Linked DNA regions of Homo sapiens: region 2 is linked to region 1. Evidence: promoter capture Hi-C in human tissues and cell types (Jung and others, 2019). All regions are on one chromosome and are shown on one strand. The core of a region is centred on a gene start or on the middle of the fragment in contact, and the rest is flanking DNA. Distances in the headings are between cores, read along the strand shown.

Region 1 (2,728 bases), core at 101-2,600:
AGGCATTCAGACTACGAGAGAAACAGAAATTACTGAGGCCAGGTGCGGTGGCTCACGCCTGTACTCCCAGCACTTTGGAATTGAGTGCTGAGGCAGGATCACTTGAGGCCAGGAGTTCAAGACCAGTCTGGGCAACATAGGAAGACCCCAATTTGTACAAAAAATACAAAACTTAGCTGGCCTGGCCGCACGGTGCCAGTAGTCCCAGCTATTGGGGAGGCTGAGATGGGAGGCTCACTTGAGCCTGGGAGGTAGAGGCTGCAGTGAGCTGTAATCGTGCCAATGCACTCCTCCACCACGGATGACAGTGAGGTCTGTCTCACTCAGAAAAATAACAAAAAATTTTAATTTAAAACATTACTCAGTTGACATTCACTGAAGTCCTATGTGTCTGGCAACCTGTTCCTGCAGCAGTGGTTCTCAGGCTGAGTGTGGGGAGCAGAAGCACTTGAACAGCTTCATAAAGCAGATGCCAGTCCTGATTTAGTAGGGCTGGGATCCTAGAACTTGCATTTCTTTCTTTTCTTTTGCGATGGAAATGGAGTCTTGCTATGTTGCCCAGGCTGGACTCCTGGGCCTTTGTGATCCTCCCACATCGACGTGCCAAGTAGCTGGGATTACAGGCTTGGGCCACTGCGCCCGGCATAGAACGTGTATTTCTAACAAATGTCCAGGGGATGCTACTGCTGATGGGGGACCACGCTCGGAGAACCACCTGGTACCATGAACAAGAAGTAGATTCTCGGCCCTCAGAGAGGTACTCTCGAGTGGAAATCGGAAAACAATCCAATAATTAACGCAAAACAGAAAACTGCAAACAGTGGGAAATGCTGCCATGAGGGAAAAATACTGGGTGCCCAAACAGCAGGGCAGCAGGAGTACATGGTCTACTGGAGGGAGGGGACGCCTGAGCTAGGAAAGGGGTTACGGGGCTGGGGAGGAGCGTTCTCGCAGAGGGACCAGAGTCACCGCACCACGAGGGAAAGCGGCGGCGGGGGCCGTGGGCCGGTAACAGCGGGAACAGGCCAGTGGACCCCGCCTGCCCGGCCCGGCCACGTGGAGGTTCCACAGGGCTCGGAGGGCCCCCAGCTCCGGCCGCCGCCGCCCACACCCGCACCAGCCCAGCCGGCCCCCGAGACGCCAGCCGCCCACACCCCCGCCAACCTGCGGCCCGCTGAGTCCTGGCGACGATGTATTTCCGGAGCTTCCTCACCGCCCGGTCCCGGGTCACCTGCTCATTCCCCGCCAGGCGCTGAGCCAGCTGGATCTCAGGCGGGAGCTGCACGCGCGAAACCATGACGCCGACGGCCGAGACCCCCTGTCCCGGAGTCGCCTGGTACCCAGCACACTGAGCACGCGCCTCCTGCGCCCGCCTCCTCCTGGCCCCGGCGCGTGGCGTGACGTCACAGCCCGCGACACCGCCCAGGCGCACGCCACCGCCGCGCAGTGGCCGAGCCGCGCAACTGCAGCCCCCGGAGGCCGAAGGCTACAGAGGGGGCGCGCGCTCCCTGCCTGTGCGCATGGGCGGAACCAGCGAGCGCGCGCCTGCGCCTGCGCCTGCGCCTCGCTGGGGCTGCGGTGGGTCGGGATTCTGAGGCAAAGATCTGTTGTTTTTTAATCTCATTTTATTTATAACCCCACTTGTATTTTTTTCCTGAGACAGGGTCTCGCTCTGTTACCCACGCTGGAGTGCAAGGCGCGATCTCGGCTCACTGCAGCCTTTGCCTCGCGGGCTCCAGGGATCCCCCAGCCTCAGCCTCCCGAGGAGCTGGGACCACGGGCGCCACCACTCTCGGCTCGAAACTTTATTTTTAAAACCAGGGGTGTGCCGGGCGCGGTGGCTCACGCCTGTAATTCCAGCACTTTGGGAGGCTGAGGCGGGTGGATCACGAGGTCAGGAGTTTGAGACCAGCCTGACCAACATGGTGAAACCCTGTCTCTACTAAAAATACAAAAATTAGCCAGGCGTAGTGGCGGGCGCTTGTAATCCCAGCTACTCAGGAGGCTGAGGCAGGAGAATTGCTTGAATCCGGGAGGCGGAGGTTGCAGTGAGTCGAGATTGCGCCGCTGCACTCCAGCCTGGGCGACAGAGTGAGACTCTGTCTCAAAAAACAACAACAAAAAAAAAAACGGGGAGGCTGCATTTGGCCTAGGGCCACAGTTTGACATACCCTGAAGTAGAAAAATATTCTTTATTTTTAGAAATAACTGCAGAACTCTTTGGTAAAGGTGACCTGTCATGATGTCTGTAATTCATTCTGCAAAAAAGTAAATCATTACACGCACATATGTGTATGCAGATAAGCAACTATGGCACACTGTTAACAGTTGTGGCGTTGGCCGGGCGCGGTGGCTCACGCCTGTAATCCCAGCACTTTGGGAGGCCGAGGCGGGCGGATCATGAGGTCAGGAGATCGAGACCATCCTGGCTAACACGGTGAAACCCCGTCTCTACTAAAAACACAAAAAATTAGCTGAGCGTGGTGGCGGGCGCCTGTAGTCCCAGCTACTCAGGAGGCTGAGGCAGGAGAATGGCGTGAACCCCGGAGGCGGAGCTTGCAGTGAGCCGAGATCGCGCCACTGCACCCCAGCCTGGGTGACAGAGTGAGACTCCGTCTCAAAAAAATACAAGTGTGGCGTCTACAGGCAGGAATACAGGTCTTCATTGACCTATCTTCTGACATTTTCTATGTATGAAATTTTTCATAAAAAGTTGAAAAGGCTGGCA
Region 2 (2,728 bases), core at 156-2,655, 86 kb after region 1:
GCTCCTGAGGGCAATCTTGGGTCTACCCAACTGCTAGAGACTGAGTGTGTCCCCCCAAATGCATAGGTTGAACCTAACTCCCAAGGTGAGGGTATCAGGATGTGGGGTCTTGGGAGGTGATGAAGTCGTTGCGGGGAGCCCTCAGGAATGGGATTTGTGCCCTTGTGAAAGAGGCCCCAAAGAGCTGCCTGGCCTCTCCCAGACACCAGATCTGCCGGTGCTCCATCTTGGACCTCCAGCCTCCAGAACTTTGAGAAATCAATTTCTGTTGTTTATAAGCAGTTTATGGTCCAGTCAAGTGCCACAAGTCCCATAGATAGTCCCATACATGATGACACCGTATTTTTTTTTTTTTTTTTTTGAGATGGAGTCTCGCTCTGTCACCCAGGCTGGAGTGCAGTGGTGTGATCTCGGCTCACTGCAACCTCCGCCTCCCCAGTTCAAGCGATTCTCCTGCCTCAGCCTCAGAAGCTGGGATTACAGGCATGTGCCTCCATGCCCAGCTAATTTTTGTATTTTTAGTTTAGACGGGGTTTCACCATGTTGGCCAGGCTGGTCTCGAACTCCTGACCTCAGGTGATCCAACCGCCTCGGCCTCCCACAGTGCTGGGATGACAGTGTGAGCCACCGCACCCGGCTGGCACGTTATTTTTTATGCCTTTTCTGTATTTAGATACACAAGAGCTCACCACTGTCAAGGGGGCCCACAGTATCTGGTGCAGTGACATGCTCTGCAGGTTTGTAGCCTGGGAACAGCAGGTTACAGCACAGGGCTGAGGTGTGTCACGGGCTGTGCTAGCCGGGTTTGTGTGAGTGAATGCTGTGAGGTCTGCACGACAGTGATATCGCCCGAGCATGCATTTCTCAAAACAGATCTCACTAGGCGACCCATGACTGTACTTGCTATAGCAGCCAGCACAAACCAAGCCACTTCTGGGAAACTCCATCGCCAAATACCATCCCTCTGGGGATTAGGTTTCAACACATGCATTTGGAGGCCTCAGACATTCCACCTCTAACAGCCTCCATGTGGCAGGTCTGGGCCAGAGCTGGGCAGGAAAGGGGAAGGGCCTTCTGGCTGAAGGGTCCCCACAAAGAGGCCAATGAGTGGGTCAAGAGCGTGGCAGTGTGAGGAACTGAAGACAAGCCCCGGCGAGGTGGGGCTGTGACCGGGGCTGAGCGGGCAACAAGTGGGGACTTTGTCCAGCAGGTTCAGAAAAAGCTGTCACGCAGAACACATCTGGCGGCCACCCCTGCCCATGCCCATCTTATAGCGTTTTCATCAGCAGATTTCAGCACATAATCATTTAAGATAAAGTTGCCCGCTCAACTGTGTTAAAAATAAGTAGCACTGCCTGCAGTTGCTTGTGGGGAACAAAAGCAACGTCTCCTTTCACCCGCAGAAAGCCCGTGATAGGGGGCGGGGCTGAGTGTCAGTCTGCACCTCTGCTGAGTTCTCAAGGTCGGCGTGAATGATTTGCCAGGACGTGGCGCTGCGGTGGCGATCGGGGCCACTCGGGAAAGGTACGAATCAAATAGGAATCAAATCCGGTAGCTGTCAGTTCAGTACATTTTCAACTTTTATTCTTAAAAACCTGGGTGGAGAAATAATTGTAGGATTTAAAGATTGACGGACTGAAGCCTTAATCACCAGGCAGTGACTAACGCCAGAAAGAGCTGCGGCAATTTTTAGACTGGGTTCAGAAAGGCACCGAGTCCTAGGAACAAAAGGCGGGCGCAGGGCCCTCCGGGAAGACACAGGGGCTGAATCGCAACAGGACGCAGGCGGCTCACCGTTCTCTCCACACGGACTCTACTTCCTAAAAGGGAATCGCACCAGCATAACCTGCAGAGAAGGGGCTTCAGCTGCCGTCTGCGGACCCCCTACACCCCCACTCAACGCCACCTCCAGCCCCCAGGTAGGGCTGGCCTCCCTGCCTCAGCCCCTGCCAGAAGCCCGGGGCTGCCCTTTCCTGCAGCTGGGCCTGTCCTCCTGAGACAGCTGCCTGCTGGGCGTCGTCGTCCGTGCCAGCCACGGAGGCAGTGTCTCTTCTGGCACGTGCTCCCAAAGGAGCAGTGAAGAGAAAGTCAGAGGCTGCAGGGTGCCAAACCCCAGGGGGCTGGCCCTGGAAGCCTGGGACGCCTGCAAGGGCCAGGTTAGTGGAGGTGAGGACAGAGGCCCGCCTGCTGACGGGCTTCCCAGCTCTTCTCAGAAGGAAAACGTGCCCATGGAGATGAGGTGGATCAGGAAACGAGGAGAGAGGCCGACACGCTCTGGAAACCTCCCTGTCTTCTTTTCCCCATTCTCCCTGGGCCCTCCCCACATCAACCAGAAGCCGGTCCTCCGATCCTGCCCGCTGAGCCCAGGTGTGGGCCCCAGGCCTGGCTGCCCTCCCGCCTCTGGTCCATCCGGGCCTCTGACCCTTCCTTCCCCTGCTGCCTGGTGGGTGCTCTCCAGTGGCTCCTGAAGTGTGCACAGGACAAAGCCCAAACCCTGCCCACGGCCCCCACGGCCCCCATGGCCGTCCCTGGCCAGCCCCCCTACATCCTGGCTGCACTGGCTGTTCCCTCCTTTGTGCCTCTACTCAGGTGCGGTTCCCTCTACTGAGATCCCCACCCCGACTTGTTCTCTGGACAAACTTCCTCTCGGCTTTAGCTGTAGAATCGCCATGGCCAATATCATAGCTGCAACCACATGTGACTCCAGAGTGCCAGGCGACGCGTGCCA

What was found. The method cuts DNA at HindIII sites, captures the fragments that hold promoters and counts their contacts. A contact is called where the count stands out against the background at its distance.
Region 2: a fragment that was not itself captured here is called in contact with the fragment with the promoter of RRP1 in region 1 in 2 of the 25 tissues and cell types used here (adrenal gland and heart left ventricle).

Annotation. Positions count from the first base shown.
Region 1 is chr21:43,788,199-43,790,926 of GRCh38, reverse strand. It overlaps RRP1 (ribosomal RNA processing 1), which reads right to left and starts at 1,350. Exons shown (of 13, transcript NM_003683.6): 1 at 1,165-1,350. The coding sequence starts at 1,297. RefSeq lists silencers at 940-1,109, 1,320-1,549 and an enhancer at 1,180-1,289. The HindIII fragment of the contact is 35,062 bases long and covers 1-2,728 here.
Region 2 is chr21:43,701,854-43,704,581 of GRCh38, reverse strand. LOC124905030 (a long non-coding RNA gene) reads left to right here and starts at 1,282. Exons shown (of 2, transcript XR_007067894.1): 1 at 1,282-1,919; 2 at 2,590-2,728. The HindIII fragment of the contact is 8,181 bases long and covers 1-2,728 here.